Regions from separate parts of the Homo sapiens genome. Here all the other regions are linked to region 2. The links are contacts of gene promoters, found by promoter capture Hi-C in blood cells and fetal thymus (Javierre and others, 2016). All regions are on one chromosome and are shown on one strand. The core of a region is centred on a gene start or on the middle of the fragment in contact, and the rest is flanking DNA. Distances in the headings are between cores, read along the strand shown.

Region 1 (2,797 bases), core at 95-2,594, 360 kb before region 2:
TTGCCTCCTTTTATTTATTTATTTTTTTTCTTTTTGTGACTGGGTCTCACTCTGTTGCCCAGGCTGGAGTACAGCGGCAAATCATGTCTCACTGCAGCCTCGATGTCCCAGGTTCAAGCAATCCTCCCCACTAAGCCTCCCAAGTAGCTGGGACCCACAGGCATGAGCCATCACACCTGGCTAATGTTGGGTTTTTTGTGTTTTGTTTTTGCTTAGACTGAGTCTCGCTCGTCGCCCATGCTGCAGTGCAGTGGCATGATCCCGGCTCACTGAAGCCTCCACCCCAGGTTCAAGCAATTCTCCTGCCTCAGCCTCCCAAGTAGCTGGGATTCCAGGTTCCCACCACTGTGCATGGCTAATTTTTGTATTTTTAGTAGAGACTGGGTATCACCATGTTGGCCAGGCTGGTCTCGAAATCCTGGCCTCATGTGATCCACCCACCTCAACCTCCCAAAGTGCTAGGATTACAGGCGTGAGCCACTGCATCTGACCTGGCCACCACATTTTAAATGGAACCTCTTGGCTGGGCGCGGTGGCTCACATCTGTAATCCCAGCACTTTGGGAGGCTGAGGCAGGCGGATCACGAGGTCAGGAGATCGAGACCATCCTGGCTAACATGGTGAAACCCCGTCTCTACTAAAAATGCAAAAAAAAATTAGCCAGGTGTGGTGGCGGGTGCCTGTAGTCCCAGCTACTTGGGAGGCTGAGGCAAGAGAATGGCGTGAACCTGGGAGGTGGAGTTTGCAGTGAGCTGAGATCGTGCCACTGCACTCCAGCCTGGCCGACAGAGCAAGACTCTTGTCTCAAAAAAATATAGAATTAAACTAAATTAAAAAATAAATGGAACCGCCCAGCCCATCCCCTACCCACCTGTCCTGCATTTTTTTTCTCCTTATCACTGTCTCACCACTAGAGGCCAGCTCCACCAGGGCAAGGGTTTTTCCCTGCCTGCCACTGTATGCCGAGTGTCCAGAACAAAGCCTAGCACAAGGTGGGTATCCCAGAAATATTTGTGGGATGAGGCCGTGCGTGGTGGCTCACACCTGTAATCCCAGTGCTTTGGGAGGCTCAGGTGGGAGGATTGTTTGAGGCCATGAGTTGGAGACCAGCCTGGGCAACATAGTGAGACCCCATCTCTACAAAAAAAAATTTTTTTTTTTTTTTGAAACAGTCTCCCCCCTTTCGCCCTGGCTGGAGTGCAGTGACAACGATCTCAGCCCACCGCAACCTCCACCTCCCCGGTTGAAGTGATTTTCATGCCTCAGCCTCCCAAGTAGCTAGGACCATAGGCGCATGCCACCATGCCTGGCTAATTTTTATATTTTTAATAGAGACAGGATTTTGCCTTGATGGCCAAGCTGGTCTCAAACTACTGGCCTCAAGGGATCCACCCGCCTCAGCCTCCCAAAGTGCTGGGATTACAGACATGAACTACCAGGCCCAGTCTCTACAAAAATAAATGTTTTAATTAGCTGGGCGTGGTGGTGCACATCTGTAGTACTGGATACTTGGGAGGCTGACATGAGAGAATCGCTTGAGCCCAGGAGTTCGAGGCTGCAGTGAGCTATGATTGTGCCACTGCACTCCAGTCTGGGCGACAGAATGAAACTGTCTCAAAAAGAGTAAATGAGACCCCGAGAGTTGGAGCAGTGCCCCCTAGTACACAGAAGAGACAGGGCTTTGACACCCCCTATCTCTGGTGTTCTTGGCCCTCAACACAGGAAAAGAAAAAAGCCATCCAGGAGGAGGAGGAGAGAGACCAGGCCTTGCAGGCCAAGGCGAGCCTGACCATCCCGCTGGTGCCCGAGACGGAAGATGACCGCAAGCTGGCGGCTCTGCTGAAGTTCCACACCCTGGACTGTGCGTAGGAGGCCAGGGGGAAAAGGGGACAGGGAGGCTCAGAGTTGCCTGGAGATGGGGGGTCCTCAGCCATGAGTGGACTCTGGTCTACCAGAGGGCAGTTCTGGACCCCCTCCCCTGCCGCCCCTGAAATGTCCTCTCCTCTCCTCTAGCCTACGAGGACAAGCAGAAACTCAAGCGGACCGAGATCATCAGCCGCTCCTGGTTCCCCTCTGCCCCCGGATCCGCCTCCAGCAGCAAGGTCAGCGGCGTCCTGAAGAAGCTGGCACAGAGCCGCAGAACCGCGCTTGCCACCTCCCCCATCACCGTCGGGGACCTGGGCATCGTGCGGCGGAGGTCTCGGGACGTCCCGGAGAGCCCCCAGCATGCGGCCGACACCCCCAAGTCTGGGGAACCGCGGGTACCAGAGGAGGCTGCCCAGGACCGGCCCATGTCCCCCGGAGACTGTCCTCCGGAAACAACTGAGACCCCCAAGTGCAGCAGCCCGAGGGGGCAGGAAGGGAGCCGTCAGGACAAGCCCCTGTCGCCAGCAGGCTCCTCCCAGGAGGCAGCTGACACCCCCGACACGCGGCACCCCTGCAGTCTCGGCTCCTCCCTCGTGGCGGACTACTCCGACTCGGAGAGTGAGTGAGCGATCCCCATCCTGGAGACTGGACCCGCTCTAGAGGCCCGGACACACCCAGGAGGCCCCTCACAGACTGCAGACCCCCGGCTCGCCCACCAGCCCTGGGAGAGCTCAGATGCCGCATCCTCCCCAGACCGCGCCTTCCTGCAACCGTGGAGTTATTTATTTGGTCCTGGTGAGGGTGTTTGTGCCTTGTGAGACTCCGTACATTAAAGACCTGTCTCTTCTTCCCTGTCTTGGGTTGTTAGATGGACCCTGGGGCTGCCCCCCCACCCCCCCACCTTGACCAAGCTTGGTAGGCCTCTCATCAG
Region 2 (2,869 bases), core at 214-2,713:
TCTCTTTCTCTGGCTGGCTGGAAAAGACCAACCTAATGTGTGGGCAAGTGGGTGAAACAGGTCTCTCTCTGGCTGAGCCCTGGGAATGATCAGAATCACTAGACGTCAAAGCAAATCACTAGACGTCACCCATTACTCTCTTTGACTGCCTCCTCCTCCCCAGTGCTCTTTCTGACCATCTCAGTTAGAACCGAATGAACCTCGCTAAACCCAGACACTTTTCATCCCAAGCCAGGAGTGGTGGAAGAAGCCCCAGGGACTGGGTGAATGACGGAGCCTCAGTTGTGAAACGACCATTTATTGAGGGGCCCTCCATGGAGCCTAGAGCTCACTGCAAGACAGGAAATGAGAGGGGGCTCTGCCACCACCCCCTTACCCCAACGCAGGAAAGAGGATGCAATGAATCCCAACAAGACCAGCTCAAACTTGGCTTTGGAAGCACTGAAGCAATTCTCTACGTTCATAAACAGTCTGCTACCCCAGCCAGGGACAGACGCTTGCTTGGAGGACGGAGCACAAGCAGAGCAGCAGAATGACAGAGTGACAGGATGAGAGAGGCAGAGGGACCCAGAAAGATCCTGTCCCCCATGCCAAGTGACACAGAAGAAAAAAATAATGCTGGAGGTGGCTCTGGGAAATGTTCAGGGGGCAGGATGGGTTTGGAAGGGGGGGCTGTGCTAAGGTGAAGAGGGAAAGGGCAGGAGAAAGATGGCGGGGGCTGGAGGGGGGAGGGGTGTGGTCAGCAAGTGGCCAAGGTCCCTGCGCGGTGGAGGCAGACAGACCTCATCGCATTCCCAAACTGGTAGAAACCTGGGTCGGGGTCAGGCAGAGGATCCCATAGGTGAGAGAGGTGAGTGAGGAAGTGGGGGGATTAGAATCTGGGAAGAGGGGCCAGGAAAGGAGGGGGTAGGCTGGTGACAGGGGCCCATGTGGGGCCCCAGCGGTCATACGTGCCATGGTTGGCAGTGACAGCTGGGGGGGAGCACGGTCTTTGCAGCATGGGGCGGCCCTAGGGGAAGGGGACCCCTACAGGGGGTACTCTGCGGGCCCGCGGGCCCCAGCCTTGGACAGGCCGGGGCAAGGGGCGCTGGGGGGTAGGCAGAGAGGATGAGGGGCCCCGTAGGGGGAGGGGCCAGGCGATGATGGACAAGGCCAGGGCTGGCAGCGCAGGGCCAAGATCGGGGTCACAGCCCGGGCACTCACCGCTCTCCTGCTCGCTGCCCTTCTTGGCGGCGGCGGCGTTGCCCATCGCGGCGGCGGCGGCCGGGGCCGGTCCCGGAGCTGCGGCGCGGCGGGTGCTGGCTGCGGCCGGCGGCCCCGGAGCGCGCTGGGCGGCGGCGGCGGCGGCCCTCGGGCTGGCTGCGCTAGCTGCGGCGCCGCGACCCCCGCCCAGCCCCTGCTTCCCGCGTCTCTCCGCGCCCGCCCGCCCGGGAACCTCAGCCCAAGATCTCTGCCGCTGTCTGTGACGCCCCCGCAGCCCGCCGCTCATTGGCCTAGGCCGCCCTGACTGACGGCTCAGCGCCGCCTCCCATTGGCCCTCCCGCGACCTTCCCGCGCCACTATAGGCTCTCAGCCTCGGGACACGCACCGCGGACTCTCGGCCATTCACTCGCTCGCGAGGCCGCAGCTGGGCGGGCAGACGCGTCCGATTGGCCGAGACGCTGGACTGGGCCCGGGGTCCGCCCTGCGAGGCCGCCGATTGGCGGAGGTGCCGGGTCCGCCAAGCCCCCCAGCAGAACGCTCAGTGTCAATCCGGGGGTGAGAGGGCGGGGCGGAGACGCAGTCTGCGGGCCCGGGCCGGCGGGGCGGGGCGGCGGAGGCTGGCTGGCGGCCGCGCAGCGCTCCGAGGCTCAGGAGGCGGCCCCGGCGGGCGCCCGGCCGGCCCCGCGCGCGCCGCAGTCCCCCGCCCCCGCTCAGTGCGGCAGCGGCTGTCGGCCAGCCGGAGTTGGCGCCGCGGCCTGCCCGGCGCAGCCGCTGTCCACCTGCCAGCGGGGGAGGGGCGCGGCCGGCGCGCGGGTCAGAGGTCGCCCGGCCGCCGCCGGCGTCATTCATAAGGCCTGGCGCTGGGCGGCCGAGGCCAGGCCTGCTTGGGGGCCAGGCCGCGGGGCCTCCTGGGTTTTCCCAGCCGCACTCAGGAGGATGCCGGGCCCGGCGCAAGGGGTGGCTGGGAAGGGGCGCTCAGTGTCCACCCCTTTGCTGGGCCCTAGCCCTGGGCTCCTGCCAGTAGTAAGAGCTGGCACCCACTTAACGCTCCTTCGCACCACACTCCCATCGCGTAGGTGCTACCATCATCACTCCCATTGCACAGATGAGGAATCTGGGGTACAGCCAGGCAGATTCCCTGCTCCTGTTCCCCGTCTGTATTTCCTGTCTGGGCAATGCGAAGGGAACCTGCCCCTTCCTTCAGGATCCTCTTTCAGTACACACTTAGCAGAGGACAGTCGGGGTTTCCCAACTGCGACACTACTGACGGTGAGGCTGGATCATTTTCTGCTGGGGGGTGTCTTGTGCACCACTGGGTGTTGAGCAACATCCCCCGCCTCTACCCACTGGATGCCAGTAGCCCCTCCTCTATCTTCCTGCTGGCTGTGGCAACCGCTGTCTCCTGACATTGGTGAATGTGCTCTTGCGGGGCCGAACTGCTCCTGATTGAGAAGCACTTAAGAGAGGGTCAGGGGAGGGGAGAAGCCAGGTCACCCCGACTCGGAAGGGCTAGCTGGGCTTAACTACAAGCCGATCTGCTGCTTCGACTTGAATAGCCTCCACCTTCTCCAGCTGCTGTCTGCCCCCATGTTCCCAGATCAACCACAGTTCCAGGGAGGGAGAGTCAGAGCCTTTCTGTGAACTATGGGGAAATGGCTGACCACTC
Region 3 (2,897 bases), core at 323-2,822, 310 kb after region 2:
CTGGGATGAAATTGTTCCACCTCAGATCATCAGGCATTAGTTAGATTCTCATAAGGAATGGGCAACCTCGATCCCTCACATGCACAGTTCACAATAGGGTTGAGCTGCTATGAGAATCTAATGCTGTTGCTGATCTGAGAGGAGGCAGAGCTCAGGCTGTAGGTAATGCTCACCCATCACTCACCTCCTGCTGTGTGGCCTGGTCCCTGACAGGCCACAAGGCCAGGGAGGGGTGGGGGTGGGGACCCCTGCTATATAAAGCCTACTGCTCCTAGGCTACCAACCCGGACAGTGTGTAACTGTCTGAATACTGTAGGCAATTGCAACACAATGCTAAGTATTTGTTTTGTTGTTTTTACCTTCATCTTCTTTGTGATGTTACAATGGTAGGTATTTGGATATCTATACATATCAAAACATAGAAAAGGTACTGGGTGTAGTGGCTCACACATGTAATCCCAGAACTTTGGAAGGCTGAGGCAGGAAGTTCAAGACTAGCTTGGGCAATGTGGTGAGACCTCTTCTCTACCAAAGGAAAAAAAAAAAGCTAAAAAGCTACTTCATATAAATTTCCTTTCATTTCCCTTTTTATTTTTCCCATTTACTTTTTTTTTTTTTTTTTTTTTTTTTGAGACGGAGTTTCACTCTTGTTCCCCAGGCTGGAGTGCAGTGGCACGATCTCGGCTAACTGCAACCACCACCTCTCGGGTTTAAGCGATTCTTCTGCCTCAGCCTTCCGAGTAGCTGGGATTACAGGCACCTGCCACCATGCCCGACTAATTTTTATTTTTTTTCAAACAGGGTCTGGGCCAGGCACAGTGGCTCACGCCTGTAATCCCAGCACTTTGGGAACCGAGGCGGGTGAATCACCTGAGGTCAAGAGTTCAAGACCAGCCTGGCTAAAATGGAGAAAACTCGTCTCTACTAAAACTACAAAAATTATCTGGGCATGGTGGCAGGCACCTGTAATCCCAGCTACTCAGTTGTCTGAGGCAGAATAATCTTGTGAACCTGGGAGGTGGAGGCTGCAGTGAGCTGAGATCACACCACTGCACTCCAGCCTGGGCGACAGAGCGAGACTCCGTTTCAAAAAATAAAATTACATGATATAAATAAAAAGAAAAAAATAAACAGTCTGGCTTTCACTCGGGCCATAGTGCCAGGTGAGATCTCAGCTCACTGTAACCTCCACCTCCTTGGCCCACTAATTTTTGTATTTCTTAGAAGAAATGAGGTTTTGCCATGTTGTCCAGGCTGCTCTGGAACTCCTGAGCTCAAGCAATCTTCCCGCCTCTGCCTCCCCAAAGTGCTAGGATTATAGGCATGAGCCACCCCGCCCAGCCTCCTTTACTTTATACATTTTTTCACTTTATATATATATGTGTGTGTGTGTGTGTGTGTGTGTTTGATACAAATGGTATCAGACTGCATCATTTTGTTCCTTTCTTTCTCTTTAGTATCATTAAAAAATAACTAGAAGCTGGGCCCAGTGGCTCCTGCCTGTAATCCCAGCACTTTGGGAAGCTGAGGTGGGTGGATCACTTGAGGTCAGGAGCTCAAGACCAGCCTGGCCAACATGGTGAAACCCCATCTCTACTAAAAACACAAAAAATTAGCCAGGCGCGGTGGCACACGCCTGTAATCCCAGCTACTCAGGAGGCTGAGACAGGAGAATTGCTTAAACCTGGGAGGCAGAGGTTGCAGTGAGCCGAGATCGTGCCATTACACTTCAAACTGGGTGACAGAGCAAGATTTTGTCTCAATAATAATAATAATAATAACTAAAGATGATGCTCTCCCTATGCTGCCCAGGCTGGTCTAGAACTCCTGTCCTCTGCAATCCTCCCACCTCTGCCTCCCAAAGTACTGGGACTACAGGCCTGAGGCACTACGCTTAGTCCTTTTTTTTTTTTTTTTGAGAGAGTCTTGCTCTGTCGCCCAGACTGGAGTGCAGTGGCATGATTTCGGCTCACTGCAACCTCTGCCTCCCAGGTTCAAGCGATTCTCCTGCCTCAGCCTCCCGAGTAGCTGGGACTACAGGCGCCCACCACCACGCCTGACTAATTTTTATATTTTTGGTAGAGACAGGGTTTCACCATATTGGCCAGGCTGCTCTCCAACTCCTGACATTGTGATCCTCCCGTCTCGGCCTTCCAAAGTGCTTGGATTACAGGCATAAGCCACCGCGCCTGGCCTTTTTTTGTATTTTTAGTAGAGACGGGGTTTCACTGTGTTAGCCAGGACGGTCTCAATCTCCTGGCCTCGTGATCCACCCACCTCGGCCTTCCAAAGTGCTGGGATTACAGGCGTGAGCCACCGTGCCCAGCCTACCTTGCAGTTTTCTAGCTTGTCTTTCCCAAGTTTACTCCAGTACCTGCCCTTCAGGGAAGCCTACACTGACTGCTTCCTCTGAAGTGCGACAGCTACCCCCTCCAGCCTTTGCAGTCTGGGATACCTTTCGCCTGATACCTCATACTGTGCCCACTCATTCCTTTCACAAAGACGGACGTAGCACAGGCTCTGTGCAATTTCAGGGAGGAGTAACATGCAAAATAATCAAACAGGGCCAAGGGCCAGAAATGACGTCGGTGTGGTCTAGGAAGATTGCTCAGAAGATGTTACATTTAAACAGATAACTAAATGAGCAAAAGGGGCCAGCCCTGGAAAGATGTGATAGAAAAGCATTCCAGAACAGATAACAGCCAGTGCAAGGGCCATGTGGTTGGAAGTAAGGTGAGACTATTTGTTTTTGTTTGTTTTTTTTTTGACGGTGGGAGGTGGTTTGTTTTTTTGTTTCTTTGGTCTCACTCTGTTGCCCAGGCTGGAATGCAGTAGCATGATTTTTGTTTTTTATTTGAAACGGAGTCTTGCTCTATCACCCAGGCCAGAGTGCATGG
Region 4 (2,705 bases), core at 108-2,607, 380 kb after region 2:
CCCCACTTTCCCTGGCTCCCCTCACACCTGAACACAGAGATGAAGAGCCACTTCAGCCCGGATATTGAGTGTTTGGGCTGGAATTTCAGCATCCTCACCCCCTCATCCTGGGAAGGGCCTGAAACTTAGCAACCCCACGGCCACACAGAAGCAGTGTGGCCAGCAGGAGGAGGGGAAGGGGGTTCCTGGGAGCACACAGAAGCTAGGGGAAGGGGGAAACCACGCCCAGGCTCCCCGTTCCAGCACAGTGTTGCTTTGGAGAGAAGGAGGGAAAGAGGCCTCTGATTCACTCTTGAAAAACCGGCTCCTGGGTGTTTCCGGGGAGAACGCCTACTTCCCAGCCTCGGCCCAGGTTGCCAGGGGGGAACCCAGTGGGCCCAGACCCCAGCATCCTGGCCCCCTGCAGACGCCACTCTCTTCTCTGGACCCAGGTAGTTAGACCTGCCCTCTCCAGCTCTGGGGAGAAGGGAAAGGAGGGCAGCTTCCTGTTTGAGTGGCTGGTAAAGCAAAAGACCAGCAGGTGTGGCCCTGATGATGAGTACGGGGTAGGGGGTGGGAGGGGTAGGGGGCCGGAGCTACTCAGCAACAACTGAGCCGTGGAGTTATTGGTATCCAGTCTAGTGGGTGTGACTCCAGTTCTGGACCCTGGGGCATGAGTTCCAGTCCCAGATGTGCCAGTTACTAGCTGTGTGACCTTGGGCAAGTCACTCCACCTCTCTGGGTAGGCTGCCTCACCTTTTTTACAAGAAGGCACAGCACCTCCCATGAGGTGTTTAGAGTCAATTATCCTCATGGTAAATGCCTGACACGGAAGCTCTCCAATAAATGCTAGCTGAGGTGGAGTTTTTCATGACGATTATTATTCAGACCGTGGTCCTCACTGCGTCCCCCCCAAGGCCCTGGAGGGTTCAGACGCGGTTAGCTCAGGGGAAGTGCCCAGGAAAGGGTCAGAAACACTGACCCCGCGCCTGTCCACGCTGGGATGGGGACAGTCCAGCCGGGGGACGGGGGGAGGGGCAAGCCCAGAAACCCCAGCCCAGCGTTGGGAGGCGTTTGTCCCCTGCCCGCCAGCAGGAAGGGAGCTGCCCCCACCACCCCCCACCCCCGCTTCCCCTGGGAAGGGGCCTCCGGCATCCCCGCGCGCAGCCTAGACCTCCAGTCGCGTCCACGGCGCCGGCCCCACCCTGCAGGATCGGCCGGATCCTCGCAGGCCCGCGACCCCCGAGGCCCCCGGAGCAGACACATCCTTCTCGCAGAGGCCACTCACCTGCTCCGCCGCCGCCGCCGCCGCCGCCGCCGCCGCCGCTGCCTCCGCCTCCCCGTGCGCACCCGGCTCGGCCCTCCGCAAACTCCAGACCGGGCCTCTCCCGCAGCGGCGCCTGGGGGGCGGGGCCGACGCCCGCGGCCGGCCAATCAGCGGCTGCCTCTCGGTGCTCGCAGCCAATCCGCGTCTTCCGCTTCGGGTGGACCCGACGGAAACATTCCAGAGGGATCCCTCCGCCTCGCCCGGCTCTTCCCGACTCCTCCCCTCGCCGCGAAGCAGTGGACCGTTCCGCCCCGCCTAAGCCGCGGCTGGCTGTACCACCGGAGGGCTGAGGAGGGGGGGGAGCTGCAGCTGGGCCCCGGCCAATCGCGAGGGAGGAAGGAGACAAGCGGCCAATGGGAAGGAAGCTGGGGCCCCTGAACCACGTGCTGTCGGCTGAGTGTCAGTCTCGGGTGCCCTGGGTGGTGAGGGGCGGGGGAGTCAGGTGACCTAGGCCAGGTTTCGGGGAAAGGATTCGAACTTCCGACGTCCAGGAAAGCGGACAGTTTAGGAGACCTGGGTGGGGGTCAATGGCAGTCCCCAACCCAGTTCCCTGCCCGGCCTCCTCTGCCCCAGCCTGGCCATCCTCGGAGCGGATAAAAAGATGCATTCAATCTCTGGGGGCGGGCGGGGGATCGAGATGAATAGGGAGGGTCCCGAGTTTCCCTGCTTCCTGGGCTGTACAATGGACAAAGGCATTCATTCATTCATTCGTTCACTCACTCATCAAATATTTAATGTGCCAGACTGCTCCGTGCCAGACTCTGTCCTACCTCTGAAGACGCGTCAGTGAATAAGCTGAATGTGCTCCTGGTAGAGGTAACAGAGCGTGCAAAAGCCGGACAGAGAGATACAGCACGCTTTAGGATACTGCAATATCGTGGGAGCTAGTAAATCAGTGTGGAAAGGCAAGATGCAATGAAAGACAAGGGTGAGATAGTTTATCTGCTTGTTGGTTTGTTTATGTGCTAGGTCACAGAAGGTACCCAGCCAGCCTTTCATAGATCTGTCTCCTCCATCTGACTGTGAGGGTGGAGGCTGAGTCTCTCTTGTCAACCCCTCACTCCCACCTCAGGCTGCCACACGGCAGGTTCTCAGCAAACCTGTGTGGACAAATAGACCATGTAGTTTATAAGGAAGGGGGATTTATCAGGTGGACACAGATCCAAGAAACAAGAGTCACAAATGCACCTGGACCAGGCCAGGACGCTCAGTTCCCGGGACAAGTGAGATTTCCTTGTTCTAGTTCAAACCCAGCCACTTGGACAGCAACTGGGGCTGAATGCTGTGTGTTCTGGGAACTGTAGTTCCTGGAAGCCTCTAAGTGCTGAGACCCTGCTCAAGCTCCATAGAAAGACTGGTTCTTTGCAGTTCCCAGGGTGAGATGTTGTGCATATCAGTC
Region 5 (2,700 bases), core at 196-2,695, 420 kb after region 2:
CATCTTGTAATTGAGCCTGTTAATTCCTGAGAAAATCAGTCTGTCTTCAGCCTCCAGCAGTCCAGGTCACTGCCCATTTCCCGCAGCTGAATACCCAGAAGCGAGCCTCTTGGGGTCCCCCATAACCCACATTTAGGGTGTTTTCTTTCTTTTTTTTTTTTTACACAGAGTCTCGCACTCTCGCCCAGGCTGGAGTGCAGTGGCTCCATCTTGGCTCACTGTAAGCTCCGCCTCCCGGGTTCACGCCATTCTCCTGCCTCAGCCTCCCGAGTAGCTGGAACTACAGGTGCCTGCCACCATGCCTGGCTAATTTTTTGTATTTTTAGTAGAGATGAGGTTTCACCGTGTTAGCCAGGATGGTCTCGATCTCCTGACCTTATGATCCGCCCGCCTCGGCCTCCCAGGGTGCTGGGATTACAGGAGTGAGCCACCATGCCTGGCCTTTTTTTTTTTTTTTTTTTTTTTTTTTTTTGTGACAGAGTCTCGCTCTGTCACCCAGGCTGGAGTGCAGTGATGTGATCTCACCTCACTGCAACCTCCACCTCCCCGGTTCAAGCGATTTTCCTGCCTCAGCCTCCCAAGTAGCTGTTATTACAGGTGGGTGCCACCATGCCCGGCTAATTTCTGTAGTTTTAGTAGAGATGGGGTTTCACCATGTTAGTCCAGGCTGGTCTCGAACTCCTGGGCTCAAGCGATCCTCCTGCCTTGGCATCCCAAAGTGCTGGGATTATAGGTGTGAGCCACCGCACCTTGCCCAGGGGTGAGTCTTATTAGCACCTGATCAGATGGGAACTACTGTTCTACTTTACAGATAATGCAACTGAAGCTCAGAGAGGTAAACTAAGCTGGTCAAGGTCACAGAGCCTGGAAGCCAGGGAGCTGAACCTGGGTTTGTCAGACTCCAGTTTTGTCCACACTGATGGCTTCTCTGCTGATGCTGCCCTAGGACAGCTGGTGGCTCTCCTGCTGTGTTCTGAGGACAGAGCATCCCTGAAGGGAGGGCGAGGTGCTGCGGGTCAGTGTGGACTGCTGGGAGAGGGTCTTTCTCTGCCCTAAAATCGGATGGGCTGCCCCTTGCAGTAAGGGCAGGATTGAGAGTGATGAGCCTTGCCTGGGTGCAGTGGTTCATGCCTGTAATCCCAGCACGTTGGGAGGCTGAGGCAGGAGGATCACCTGAGGTCAGGAGTTCAAGACTAGCCTGGCCAACATGGCGAAACCCCCTCTCCACTAAAAATATAAAAATTGGCCGGGTGCAGTGGCTCATGCCTGTAATCCCAGCACTTTGGGAGGCCGAGGTGGGTGAATCACGAGGCCAGGAGATCGAGACCATCCTGGCTAACACAGTGAAACCCCGTCTCTACTAAAAAATAGAAAAAGTTAGCTGAGTGTGGTGGTGGGTACCTGTAGTCCCAGCTACTTGGGAGGCTGAGGCAGGAGAATGGCTTGACCCGGGAGGCGGAGCTTGCAGTGAGCCGAGATCGCGCCACTGCACTCCAGCCTGGGCGACAGAGCGAGACTCCGTCTCAAAAAAAAAAAAAAAAAAAAAAAAAAAAAAAAAAAAAATATATATATATATATATATATATATATATATATATATATATATATGTATGTATATATAAATTAGCCAGGCATCATGGTGCACTCCTGTAATCCCAGGTACTCGAGAGACTGAGGCAGGAGAATTCGTTTGAACCTGGGAGGTGGAGGTCGCGGACGAGCTGAGATCGCACCACTGCATTCCGGTCCTGGGCAACAGAGTGAGACTCTGTCTCAAAAAAAAAAAAAAAAAAAAAGGGAAAGTGGTGAGCCTTGAGCTGTGGTGAGCTATAAAGACCTTTCCTATGTTAGCCTGACTCAGGCCAAGATCCTGAGGGGGTTGGAGGGGATCTTAGGCTTTTCAGATTTTCCTGCAGGCTTCTTGCTTTGAGCAGATGGTGACTCACTGGGCAGATTCTCCTGGTGGAGTCCCTTCTGTCCTGGCTGTAGCTTTGTACTTAGGCCATTTCTTTGCTGTAGGCACTCAGAATCTCAGAGCCCCAGGCTTGAGATAATTTTTCTGGTTTAACTTCTGTAAAGTTACAGATGAGGGACCTGAGACCCAGAGAACAAGGCCTTTTCCAGGGCTGCAGGCCAGTTCCCCTTTGGGTTGGGCAGTATTGATTGATACTCTTCCTGGGAAGGTGGCAATGCTTACGGGCTTTGGATCAGTGCTAGGCTCATATGCTTAACTGCCACTGACAAGGTTTGGAGCCCACGGGCAAGGTCTTTAGTTTCTCGAGCTAGTTTTTTTTTTTTTTTTTCGTGAGACAGAGTCCCCCTCTGTTGCCCAGGCTGGAGTGCAGTGGTGCCATCTAGGCTCACTGCAACCTCTGCCTCCTGGGTTCAAGCGATTCTCCTGCCTCAGCCTCCTGAGTAGCTGGGATTACAGGCGCCCACCACCACGCCCGGCTAATTTTTGTATTTTTAGTAGAGATGGGGTTTCACCATATTGGCCAGGCTGGTCTTGAACTCCTGACCTTAAGTGATTCTCCCACCTTGGCCTCCCAGAGTGTTGGGATTACAGGCGTGAGCCACAGCGGCTGGCCTTGAACTAGCTTTTTAATCCATAAAATGACACCTGGGTGTGCGAGACCCGGCTGACATTGGCTGATGGTGTGCATCTTCCCAACTCTGTGTTCAGGGATATCAGGCTGACAT

The links. Contacts are between HindIII fragments. The CHiCAGO score rates a contact against its expected background, and 5 or more counts as called.
Region 1: a contact is called between a fragment that was not itself captured here and the fragment with the promoter of PRKACA in region 2, in 3 of 17 cell types (non-activated CD4 T cells, total CD8 T cells and monocytes). The highest score is 5.7, in non-activated CD4 T cells.
Region 3: a contact is called between a fragment that was not itself captured here and the fragment with the promoter of PRKACA in region 2, in 10 of 17 cell types (naive CD4 T cells, activated CD4 T cells, fetal thymus and 7 more). The highest score is 11.2, in naive CD4 T cells.
Region 4: the fragment with the promoter of GIPC1 here is called in contact with the fragment with the promoter of PRKACA in region 2 in 7 of 17 cell types (fetal thymus, activated CD4 T cells, non-activated CD4 T cells and 4 more); the score reaches 9.8 in fetal thymus.
Region 5: a contact is called between a fragment that was not itself captured here and the fragment with the promoter of PRKACA in region 2, in 3 of 17 cell types (naive CD8 T cells, non-activated CD4 T cells and naive CD4 T cells). The highest score is 5.9, in naive CD8 T cells.

The regions. Positions count from the first base shown.
Region 1 is chr19:13,760,577-13,763,373 of GRCh38, forward strand. It overlaps YJU2B (YJU2 splicing factor homolog B), which reads left to right. Exons shown (of 10, transcript NM_030818.4): 9 at 1,723-1,861; 10 at 2,014-2,713. The coding sequence ends at 2,492. Among named protein-coding and RNA genes, the nearest start is that of MRI1, 2.5 kb to the right of the region's middle. RefSeq lists an enhancer at 2,157-2,673. The HindIII fragment of the contact is 2,861 bases long and covers 1-2,775 here.
Region 2 is chr19:14,116,299-14,119,167 of GRCh38, forward strand. It overlaps PRKACA (protein kinase cAMP-activated catalytic subunit alpha), which reads right to left and starts at 1,464. Exons shown (of 10, transcript NM_002730.4): 1 at 1,204-1,464. The coding sequence starts at 1,249. It overlaps LOC124904642 (a long non-coding RNA gene), which reads left to right and starts at 1,916. Exons shown (of 2, transcript XR_007067144.1): 1 at 1,916-2,869. RefSeq lists silencers at 1,045-1,114, 1,525-2,084. The HindIII fragment of the contact is 7,542 bases long and covers 1-2,869 here.
Region 3 is chr19:14,423,337-14,426,233 of GRCh38, forward strand. No RefSeq gene overlaps it. Among named protein-coding and RNA genes, the nearest start is that of DDX39A, 5.4 kb to the left of the region's middle. The HindIII fragment of the contact is 8,906 bases long and covers 1-2,897 here.
Region 4 is chr19:14,494,770-14,497,474 of GRCh38, forward strand. GIPC1 (GIPC PDZ domain containing family member 1) reads right to left here and starts at 1,358. Exons shown (of 9, transcript NM_005716.4): 1 at 1,268-1,358. RefSeq lists an enhancer at 673-1,599 and silencers at 1,262-1,491, 1,632-1,691. The HindIII fragment of the contact is 11,428 bases long and covers 1-2,705 here.
Region 5 is chr19:14,533,982-14,536,681 of GRCh38, forward strand. All of the region lies in intron 1 of TECR (trans-2,3-enoyl-CoA reductase), which reads left to right. It also overlaps a transcript of DNAJB1 not described here. Among named protein-coding and RNA genes, the nearest start is that of TECR, 5.7 kb to the left of the region's middle. The HindIII fragment of the contact is 5,775 bases long and covers 1-2,700 here.